3 separate regions of the Homo sapiens genome follow, and all the other regions are linked to region 1. Evidence: promoter capture Hi-C in human tissues and cell types (Jung and others, 2019). All regions are on one chromosome and are shown on one strand. Each heading gives the region's core, a stretch centred on a gene start or on the middle of the fragment in contact. The rest is flanking DNA. Distances are from core to core; before and after follow the strand shown. Region 1 holds the start of CTDP1 (CTD phosphatase subunit 1). Region 2 overlaps LOC105372225 (a long non-coding RNA gene). Region 3 overlaps ATP9B (ATPase phospholipid transporting 9B (putative)).

Region 1 (3,770 bases), core at 494-2,993:
TAACTTGCCACATAACCAAGTTACTCACCTGTCTAGGCCAAAGCAGCCCTTTCTGTACAATCAGAGGAACAGAATGAAACCTCAGTAGGGATCTTCCATCCTGGGGTTTTCTGTCCAGGGAATACACCAGCATTGGGATCTGCCTCCACAATCCTCCCAGGTACGGCCAGTGCCCACTGAGGAAGCCGTGAAGGCATTTTCTGGGAGGCAAGGCCCTGAACCTCCCAGCCCCACCCACCAGCACGCAGGGGGCAGGAGTGAGTGCCCGTGCCGAGGGTCAAGGACCCAGGCTCTGTCTCCAAAGGAAGCGGAGCCAGGACGTTCTGGGGCTGTGACGGGAAGACTCCTGTCCCAGTCCTCACTCTTGCGGAACCAGATGCAGAGAAGATCCTCAACAAACACAGGGTCAGGGCAAGCCAAAGGGACGAGGAGCCGCGGCTGCCGAGGAGGGAAGAGAGTGGCATCCCCAGAAGGAGCGGCACCTTTCCCAGAGGGAGCTCACGCCCGGCCCACTGCGGGCTGGAGTGTCCACCTCTCCCTGGAGTTTCTGTTCTCACAATCAAAACTACCAGAGCCAGGCGCACACGCGTGTCCACTTGCCCGCCCATCCCAGAACACAAGGGTAGATTCAAACATGGCTGGACACTTCGGTGCTACGGAAACATATCCCCTTCTGGGGTCAGAGCACAGCTACTGAGAGCTGTGGAGTCTGTCACAACGCCCACGTCACCCTGAAGCAGCCTGCGACAATGCCCACTGTGGTCAACCACGGGGCTACTGCCTTCGCTGCAGGCCTGGGTTCCGCCCGTTCCTTAGCCACGAAACAGAACTGCACCAGGTTTTACAACTGCGTTTCACAAAGTTTACAAAAATTTAAAGATGTGCACACACCCAACAGTTTATATTTCAATAACAGGTCTGGAGCCTGCCTGATGACTCTTGTGCTCACAGCCACCCATGAGTTTTCCTAAGTCACAAAGGTGGAGCTAAAGGAAGGGGCGGGGACTATCACTGCAGAAAGAAAGAAACAAACATAGCTTTTCCAAACAGTAACTTCGTGTCGCTACGCAGGACCCTTTCCTTTTATCTCAAAATGCTCCCCGTTGGTAAAACCACAGGTGGTGACTATCCAGTTTTAGGGGAGAAGCGCAGTGCCTGCGTCCCGCTTTATCGCTCCCTCACCAGGGGCGCCCCTGCCCACCGCGGACGCAGCAGCCCGGGGGTCCTCCAGGATCCCTCCCCGGAGCCGCCCGCCCTCGGCCCCGCCCGGCTCAGCACACTCACCCTGGGGCGACCACCTGGCCCGGCTGCGCGCACAGCTCCCGCACCACGCCCGCGCGCTCCGACCTCAGCCTGCGTTCCGGCCGCGCGGGGCGCACGCAGCCCCCGGAGGCTACACGGGACTGAGAGGCCCCGGAGGACTGCGCGGAGGCGGCGGCCTCGAACACGGCCAGCACCGAGCCGATGCGCACGGCCGCGCCCGCCGCCACCCTCCACTCCAGCAGGCGCAGCGGCGCGGGCCCCGGGCAGCGCACCTCGGCCACAGCCGCCGTCGGGGCGCCCTCGGCAGGAACGCGACCCGCGGCCGGCACCTCCATCGCGGACAGAGGGCGGGCGGGCGGTCGGTACGGGGCCTGCGCTGCGCTCAGAGCGCAGCGCCTACCGCGGCGACACAACCCAGGCGGCGACGCTGTAGTTCCTCTCGGTACCGGCTTCCACCCGTCGCCTAGCCCGCGCCGACTTCCTGGAGGGCGCGTGACGTCACGCAAGGGCGCCGCGTACGTGCGTACGTGCGCGTGTAAATACGAGCGCCGCGCGGGGCCGGAGCCGGCTCCGTCCTGGGACCAACCCTGCGTGCCGGCCGTGAAGAACTGCGTTCCTGAGCCCTACCTACTTTTCCTCGGAGCGCCGGCACCGTGGAGCAGCGGCATGCAACGCGGGCCGCTGTCGCCCAGTCCCAGTGACGGTCTTGGCGCGCTCGGAACTACGTATCCCGGCGTGCACCGCGGACAGAGCATGGCGGGACTACGAGTCCCAGCGTTCAACGCAGGCCTGCGTGCCATTACCCCATCACGCGCTGAGACCCAGCATCCCGAGACTACGAGTTCCGGCATGCACCGCGAGCCGCTCTCCTCCACTCCCATCGCGCACTGTGAGTCGCAACGTCGCGGGACTACGGGTCCCGGCATGCCTTGCGCGCCGCGGGCCCAGAGACGTGAGGCTGTCGGCGTCCTGGTGGCCCCGCCTCGTGTCCCCCCCCGGACCCCACGCCGCGGGAGCTTGGGGGTTGCGGTCTTCTCTTCCTCCGACCTCACCTTCGATGCGGAAGCGCAGGGGCAGGTGCGCCGCCCTCGGCCCGCGCAGGCGGTGGGCCCGTCTGGGGCAAGGCGCCCGGAAGCGCCTGGTTGGTTCAGAAAATCGGACCGCAGCGGGAGGGCGGGCACCGGCGCGTGGTCTCAGTGGCCCCAGGCGAACCCTGATGAGCAGCAGCCGCAAGTGGCTTACTAAAGGAGCCACTTTCTACGTTTGTCTGGAATTTACGTGAATTAAGCTGGCGGGCGGGCGGCCAGGCCTGTAGTCTCAGCACTTTGGGAGGCTCAGCACTTCGGGAGGCTGTGGCGGGCGGATCACCTGAGCCTGGGAGTTGGAGACCAGCCTGCGCAACGTAGCAAGACCCTATCTCTAAAACAGATTCATTAATACTTAGCCAGGCGCGGTGGCTGAGGTCCCAGCTACTCGGCAGGCCCAGGCTGGCCTGAGCCAGACCGCTCTGGACTGTTTTAATTTTTTCAGCCTTAATACCTGCCAGAATTTTTTTTTTACTATGTATCTTTGTCCTTACGTATATAAATTTTATATACAATTGAGATTATCCTGTATTTGCTTTTCCCCCCTCACTTTTATATGGTGACTTTTCTCATGTTAGGCTGAATACTAACATTTTGGAAACTGTCGGCCTGAAAACGAGCGGAGACACAGTTTCTCTAAGTAGAGAGTTTATTTGGGCCACACTTGAGCACAAATTCAAGGCGCCCTGAATGTGTACTCCGATTAGCAGTTAACAGTGGATTTTAAAGGCAAAAAAGGGGGCCAGGGAGTGGACTAATAGGAACTTGTTTGTGAGGAATTCTCACTGGTTTACAGAAATAACATTGATTAGTGACTGACTATATGTTGTTCAGCTATTGAGTGTGGGTATAGTGTCCATTGTGGCGTCATTAGGTTAATTTATAGCTGTTTGTGGCGCTGTTGCCACCAGTAGCAGTTTAAAGAGGTGAACACAGGTCAAGGGGTAGTAGGGCGCGATTGTCGCCTCATTTGAATGTCTCTCTCGGCCTGATAATTAAAAGAACTCGCGTTCCTCAGATAAAAATTCTCTTTTCTCAAAACCATTTAAATGTGGTAATTAGAATGGCCCAGAAGGGGCACAGTGCCTTTTAGCCCTCGCCATTACTTGCTCTTAGGAGTGCATTTTTTGTAGCTGTGGGTTTTTGACTATCTCTGCTGCTTTCTCCAGCCCCTACCCTCGTGACTACAAGGGAAAACGTGCGGTGCTCACGAGAGAGCCTTTATGGGATTTTTAAAAAATGGGGATTGTGGGAAAATGGCTCCAGCAGTCACAGTTTTTCAGTTTCTCACAATCCCATAAAAACAGAGCAACCAGGTAACAAAACTAAAGCATGGGCAACATTTACAGACCACTGGATGGTGAAGAATTCCCATGAACCCCTGGTTCACACTGTAAGGACACACTACTCAGCATGGGCAAC
Region 2 (3,770 bases), core at 499-2,998, 650 kb after region 1:
CACACAAATGTTAGCCAAAATATTTAACAGTAGTGGGACTTGGGATGATTTTACTCCTTTTTATTTTTATTTATATTTGCCATGTGTTCTACAATGAACATGAATAGTATCAAAATTTGAAAGGAAAAAACTTTTAAAAGTGGGAGTTCTTCAAGGGGAAATTTTTCTTTTTAATTTCCTAGTAAAAAATAAAAATGTGAAGTTCAGAAACCCTTGTGGCGAAACACATATAATTTGTAAAAAACCCCTAAAATGAAGACGATGATGGGTTCTTTTCTGAGAACATGCAGGGAGGAAGGCATGGTCCTCTGCCAGGGGTCGGGGTCTCACCAGGTAGGAGGCGGGGCTCAGCATTGTTGATATGGTTTGGATGTGTGTCCCCGCCCAAATCTCATGTTGAATTGTCATCCCCAATGTTGGAGGAGGGGCCTGGGAGGAGGTGATGGGATCATGGAGGTGGCTTTCCCCCTTGCTGTTCCTGTGATGGTGAGTGAGTTCTCGTGAGATCTGGTTGTTGAAAAGTGTGTGGCACCTCCCGCTTCACTCTCTTCCTCCTTCTCCGGCCATGTGAAGACATGCCGGCTTCTTCTTTGCCTTCCGCCATGACTGTAAGTTTCCTGAGGCCTCCCCAGCCATGATTCCTGTACAGTCTGAGGAACCATGAGCCAGTTAAACCTCTTTTCTTCATAAATTACCCAGTTTCAGGTGGTTCTTCATAGCAGTGAGAGCACGGACTAATACAGTTGTCTACCCAACCCTCTGGCCCAGGGCTGGAGCTGGGGCATGAGACAACAGTCTTTGCCTTGAAACAGAAATGTTGACCTTTGTCAGCCCTGTGGCCAAAGTGGAAATTTCAGACCATGTGGGAATCGCAGGATTTGTCCTCCATCCGTGCATCATATTTTATTATGTTGGCAAAAATTATTTGTGCACTAACCAAATACTTGGTTACGTGTGCCTGGTTAATAAAGACTCATTACATTATAAATGGTGGATGTTAAAGAGATGTACTGGCCGGGCACAGTGGCTCACTTGTGTAATCCCAGCACTTTGGGAGGCCGAGGCAGGCGGATCACGAGGTCAGGAGTTAGAGACCAGCCTGACCAACATAGTGAAACCCCATCTCTACTAAAAATACAAAAATTAGCTGGGTCTGGTGGTGCATGCCTGTTATCCCAGCTACTCAGGAGGCGGAAGGCAGGAGAATCGCTTGAATCCAGGAGGCGGAGGTTGCAGTGAGCCAAGATCGTGCCACTGCACTCCAGCCTGGGCAACAGAGTGAGACTCCATTTCAAAAAAAAAAAAAAAGTAATCGTGAAACCTGCTTTTGTCAATCTTGATTATGTTGATTAAAGTATGAAAATTGGGCTCTTCCTATGATGTCAACAAATAATTGTTCAGGAATGCGAAATGTGGGCAACTAGGCACACATTCTTTTCACACTGGCTCTCAGCCACCTAGGAATATGAGGATGTGGCTGTTGGGACAACTAAACAGAAGATGACTTGTGTTTCCTTCAGAAGGTCCCAGACACAGCCATGGGATTTAAAAGTTGAAGAGATCATCACATTCTCACCCATCTCATTTCATAATTTTATGTAGGCTGAGGCGTGAAGTGAGGGGGCACCATTGCTTGAGTGAGAAGCATTTGCTGAAGATCCGTCAGACCCAGCAAGTGGCAGACCACAGCCTACATGCCTGCACGTGCTCACCGTGCACATTCCAGGACAGCACTGTCAGCAGAGAGCACCTGCGGACTCAGCTGCGGCTCTCCTGCCTCCCTCTACACACTCGTCAACGCCACTGCCTCAGCCCCCAGAGACAAGTGTCAGTCGCCCAGAGATCATTCCAACCAGCCCTGCCAGGCATTATTTTCACATCACAGCTCACTTTTCTGAATTCCAAGTCCCAGTTTTGTTTCTCTCAGGTCTGTTATCCTGTGGGCCTTTACTAATTTATGTGGTTGAATTATAGGATTGGAAGGAATGAACATGAAAGAAATTCAAGCTCTACGATTTCTATGGAAAAATTGAATTATGGCAAAATTTACAACTTTCGTGTTTTAAAGGTCGCTATTGAGAAAGCAAAAACACAACCCACAGAATGGAAAAAGAAATATTTGAAAACCATATGTCTAACAAGGGATTTGCATCTAGAAAATATAAAGAACCCTACAACTCACTAATAAGAAGATAAATGACCCAAATAACAAACGGGCAAAAGACTTGAATAGACATTTGTCCAAAGAAGATGTGGAAATGGTCAACATGCACATGAGAGGATGCTCAACATTGGCCATTAGGAAAATGCCAATCAAAGTCATAATGAGGCAACAGTTTACACTCATCAGGATGACTACAGTGAGAAAGACAGACAATAACAAGTGTTGGCAAAGATGGAGAGAAATTGGAACTCACATATACTGCTGGTGGGAATGCAAAATGGTGCCTTTGCTTTGGAAAGCAGTCTGGCAGTTCCTTAAAGGGTGAAATGTAGACATCATTTAACATACCTATTCCACCCCTTGGGATATACCCATGAGAAAAGAAATATGTCCACACGAAAACTTGTACATGAATATGTATAGAAGCATTAGTAATAATAATCAAAAGGTGAAAACAACCCAAATGTTCATCCTGATGAATGGGTTACAAAATGTGGTATATCCACATAGTGGAATGTTACTCACCATGAAAAGGAATGAGGCACTGGTACCTGCTACAATGCAGACAAAACTTATGCTGAGTAAAAGAAGCCAGTCGTGAAAGGCCTTGTATTGTATGGATTTATTTGTATAATATTTCCAGAATAGGCAAATCCAAAGAAACAAAGAGCAGATTGGTGGGTGCTTAGGCATGGGGATTTTGTAGAATTCCATTTGGATTTATCTGTAATGTTTTGAGTGTATCTCTTTGTATAGCTTGTTTGGTGACAGCTCTAGGTATTACATTATATATGTCTAGTGATCACAGTCTATTGGTGTTCTCATTTTACCAGTTCAGTTGGAGTATAGCAATCTTATCTCCCAGTAGTACATTCCTTTATTTTCTTATTTTTATTTTTTATATTTTTGAGACGGAGTCCTGCTCTGTTGCCCAGGCTGGAGTGCAGTGGCATGATCTCAGCTCACTGCAACCTCCACCTCCTGGGTTCAAGCAATTCTATGCTTCAGCCTCCCAAGTAGCTGGGATTACAGGTGCCCACCACCACACCCAGCTAATTTTTGTATTTAGTAGAGATGGGGTTTCACCATCTTGGCCAGCCTGGTCTTGAACTCCTGACCTTGTGATCTGCTCACCTTGGCCTCCCAAAGTGCTGGGATTACAAGCATGAGCCACTGTGCCCGGCCATCCCTTTATTTTATTTTTATTTATTTATTTATTTATTTTTGAGATGGAGTCTCACTCTGTCACCCAGGCTGGAGTGCAGTGGCACAATCTTGGCTCACTGCAACCTCTGCCTCCCAGGTTCAGGGGATTCTCCTGCCTCAGCCTCCCAAGTAGCTGGGATTACAGGCACCCACCCACACCCAGCTAATTTTTGTATTTTTAGTAGAGATGGGGTTTCACCATGTTAGCCAGGCTGGTCTTGAACTCCTGACCTCAAGTGATCCACCCACCTGGGCCTCCCAAAGTGCTGGGATTACACAAGTGAGCCGCCATGCCCGGCCAGTACTTCTCTTTAACATCCACCATTTATAATGTAATTTTCTTAAATATTTCTTCTCTACCTATTTACAGCCACATCAGACAATGTTATACTTACTTCAA
Region 3 (3,770 bases), core at 424-2,923, 570 kb after region 1:
AGAAAATCTTACAATGGAAAAGTCATATTAACCTTATATTTATGAAATGGTAAAAAACAAATAAATAGCCACTTTTTTTTTTTAACACGGACATCCAGGTAGCTTTACAAAGACTGAATGAACAAGCCAAACGTGAACAGGTGTAACTTCACGAGATAGACTGCCTTAATCTCTTGTGGGTATTTACTTCCCTCAAAACATTAAAAATGATAAAATATAAGAAGTTGTAATTGCAGACCAGTTTTCAAGAAGACAGCTACCCAGCTACTCTTATGGTCTTTGGGTAGTTAATTCTTAATAATATTTTCAAATATAAAAGAAATTTCATCATTCAATAAAATTTTAGGAATGTCAATACTGAAAGGTTTTGGTTTTGGTTTTCACTTTAAATAGTTATCTTTAGAGAAGAAAACCCAAGATCTAACATATTAATAGATCTCAATTTACAAACGCCTCTAATTATTAGATTTACATTGAAAATCAAAATGGAACAAAACTTACGTTTACAGATGAGAATAATTCAAACAGCACACTACAATTAAATCAAACTTGCAAACCTGCAACTTACAAATCACAATCTCTTTGGATGCCATTTCCATGCCACTTAGAAGGTATGAAAATTTCACCAAGCAGGGCAATGGGTTAAGTGCTTATTGCTCAACTAGAGAGTCTGCAACTTGTTTTCAGAAAATGAGGTTATCTGCATCATCATACGGCAATGTGTGGGACTCAAAATCAGTTACACTGACAATATATTTATGTTCATAATCACGTTCAACCTGCTGTCTAAGAATGTTTTGAATTATTTCATAAATTAATCTCAGCAGGAAATAAAGTGCTTTTTCCTTAGTGATTTCTTTAAAATCTCAGCATAAATTATATCTATTAGCAACTTAGAAATTGCCATTCGTGGTAAAAATGACATAGAACTCCTACTGGGTAATTACCAAATGTTTCTAAAATACTACATTTTAGATGAAAAGACTAATTTCAGAGACGATCTAAGATAAAAAACTCATACACATGGTAATCATCATACAGTCACATCCACAGGTATTTTCAGCATGCGGCCAATCTGGGCAGGCTGTGTGGACTTACACTGATCAAAGTTAAGCTGCACTGCTGGCTTTAAACGACTGCAATCAATACTCTACAGTCTACTGACTGAACCTGCTGACCTTTAGGAAAACGTACACTGCTTAGCCAATCTCTGAGATCTGTGAGTATTTAATAATTTAAACCTAAGCAGAAAACAGTGGCTTCATTCAATAAAGATGCGAATATTTATCTGCCTGTAAGACAGTTTACATTTTATTATCCTGACAAAAGGTCTGTCTTTTAATTATGAAGCCATTAGTTTTGTGGGTTTTAATAAAGAAGTGCATTAGATATCAAGTATTTGCCAATCACTAGGTGGATGGGGATGAGGTGGGGGTGGGAGTAAAATCAATGCCAAATACAATGTCAGCATGATTATTTAAATTAAATATACAAGATAAAGCAACCCACATTCCATGTAATCAAGAGCTTTTCTTGCAAATAAAAGACATAAAACATGCCAAAAACTTTGATATAGAAATATAATCAATACCAGCTTCCTTTTCCTTTAGAAAGATAAATAAATCTATTAAAATAAGGAATGACATACAAAACACAAAAATTATTCAACTATTCTAATTGTATATGAACTGTTTTATAATTTAAGCCAGTAATATCACTAGCAACAAAAGTAATAAAATATTTAAACTACAGTATTTAAATTTAGCAATAATACCCAATTAAAGATAACTAACGATATAACAATATAAGAAGGTCTGAGATTTATAATGTGAAGTAGCAAAGACATCTATATATAAATATGCATATTACAGATACTTTGTTACTGTATCATTTCAGTATAAAAAATTGTTTCATTTTCTTTGCGAAATCTCTTGGCAGGGTTTAAACATTACATTTACTGTTTTCTCCAAACTAGTTCCCAGACAAACAAAACGTATAACTTGTTTTCTGTTAATTTTATTTACTTTTACTTCATTATGTCTATATTTCTAAAATAATATAAATATGATGTTTATCAAGAACTGAAGGCAATAATCAAATTGTACATTTTCTTGAGCTGAACTCTATGATGTAGCCATTAAAAATACATATGAATTATTTAGCGATTATTGGGAACACAGATGGTTCAAAAGCAAAAGGACACTGATTTGGATGTGACACAACTCAATACCTAAGTCAGAGTCTCAACAGGCTCCATCCTATAGCAAAGGAAGCCAGCAATCTCTGACACACAACCCATCTCCAAGAATGCAATAGTCTTACCCCAGGTATAAAGGTAAACACATTGTATTTTTGATTTTTTATAGAATTCCTGGGATGTTTTTCTTCACACTTTTCAGGACATCCAAGCCATACTGTGCGAGCTTTCAGCTCTTTCTTTCTTCGACAAATATTTATCAGCCAACCACAGCAACTGTATGAAACAAAAGATACGTATTGTGTATTTTTTTTTGCTTTTTAAAAAAGTTCAAACTAATTGTACATATTTAGAGTCAATATTGATTGTTTCTGTATTCACCACACACTAATAGCACACCTAATGCTAATTTGTGGGGTTTTTCTTATAATAGGTTGGTTACACAAATTTAAATTTGACATAAAATACAAAGTCTTATATAAATGTACCCCAGGGGAATTATCTTTCTGTTTAGACACTCTTATTGGCAAAATAAAACCATTAATATTCTGAAGCAGTCAATGCTCTATATGTCGAGAAAAGGTATAGCTATAGCTATAGGTTACCTACTGGTAATTCCCAATACACTTTTCAATGATAAAGGTCCTTGGATTTCAATTAATCCAGGATGTGGCTCATTCTCTGAAGTAATAATCACTTTTTCCACTCTTAAAAAATGACTTTTCCAGTAGTATTAACTAATGCAATATTAAGACTTACAGCTCAGGCCAGGCGTGGTGGCTCACATCGGTAATCCCAGCACTTTGGGAGGCCGAGGCAGGCGGATCACCTGAGGTTAGGAGTTCAAGACCAGCCTGGCCAATGTGGTAAAACCCCGTCTCTACTAAAAATACAAAAATTAGCCAGCCATGGTGGCAGGCACCTGTAATCCCAGCTACTCAGGAGGCTGAGGCAGGAGAATAGCTTGAACCCGGGAGGCAGAGATTGCAGTGAGCCAAGACAATGCCACTGCACTTCAGCCTGGGCGAAAGAGTGAGTCTCCATCTTAAAAAAAAAAAAAAAAAAAGACAGCTCAATCCAATATTTAAAGAGGATACAAATGTTTCCTGTGATATTCTAATGATAATAAAAGCTTGACTGTATTTCCACATAGCTCTCTTCATCTATGCAGTAAATATTTTAATTTTACATTTACCCTGTTCCAATAGTGTCTGGGTTTCAGGAGCACAACTCTTCCCCTTCTTGGTCATCCAAACCATTATTTTGGGGTAGACAGTATAGAGTTTCTAAAAATACCTCAGAAAATGATGAAAAGGTATCAAATTCATCTCTTTTAAGCACAAAATAATCATGAATTTAAACTTCAGTATTAAAATTTTGGTTTAATTTAAATTTTCAAAATGTAGAGAAAGACTCAGAATGGCTTACTAAAGGAAGTTGTTAAATCTCACCTTCTAATTGTATTCAAGGCTAGAATAGAAAGCCTGCCGTATAAGTCAAATATTCTTCATGTTTGTGACAAAGGAAGCTTAAAAGTTAACAAAAAGTTTTGCATGAAAATGACAGCATAAGG

Evidence for each region. Contacts are between HindIII fragments. The study calls those that stand out against the background at their distance.
Region 2: a contact is called between a fragment that was not itself captured here and the fragment with the promoter of CTDP1 in region 1, in 2 of the 25 tissues and cell types used here (dorsolateral prefrontal cortex and lymphoblastoid cells).
Region 3: a contact is called between a fragment that was not itself captured here and the fragment with the promoter of CTDP1 in region 1, in 2 of the 25 tissues and cell types used here (dorsolateral prefrontal cortex and spleen).

What each region holds. Positions count from the first base shown.
Region 1 is chr18:79,677,776-79,681,545 of GRCh38, reverse strand. It overlaps CTDP1 (CTD phosphatase subunit 1), which reads right to left and starts at 1,743. Exons shown (of 13, transcript NM_004715.5): 1 at 1,285-1,743. The coding sequence starts at 1,598. It overlaps CTDP1-DT (CTDP1 divergent transcript), which reads left to right and starts at 1,801. Exons shown (of 5, transcript NR_136643.1): 1 at 1,801-2,152. RefSeq lists enhancers at 1,602-2,110, 2,111-2,618. The HindIII fragment of the contact is 29,025 bases long and covers 1-3,770 here.
Region 2 is chr18:79,028,837-79,032,606 of GRCh38, reverse strand. All of the region lies in intron 1 of LOC105372225 (a long non-coding RNA gene), which reads left to right. Among named protein-coding and RNA genes, the nearest start is that of ATP9B, 39 kb to the left of the region's middle. The HindIII fragment of the contact is 7,608 bases long and covers 1-3,770 here.
Region 3 is chr18:79,109,058-79,112,827 of GRCh38, reverse strand. ATP9B (ATPase phospholipid transporting 9B (putative)) reads right to left here. Exons shown (of 30, transcript NM_198531.5): 3 at 2,323-2,473. Among named protein-coding and RNA genes, the nearest start is that of ATP9B, 42 kb to the right of the region's middle. The HindIII fragment of the contact is 7,074 bases long and covers 1-3,770 here.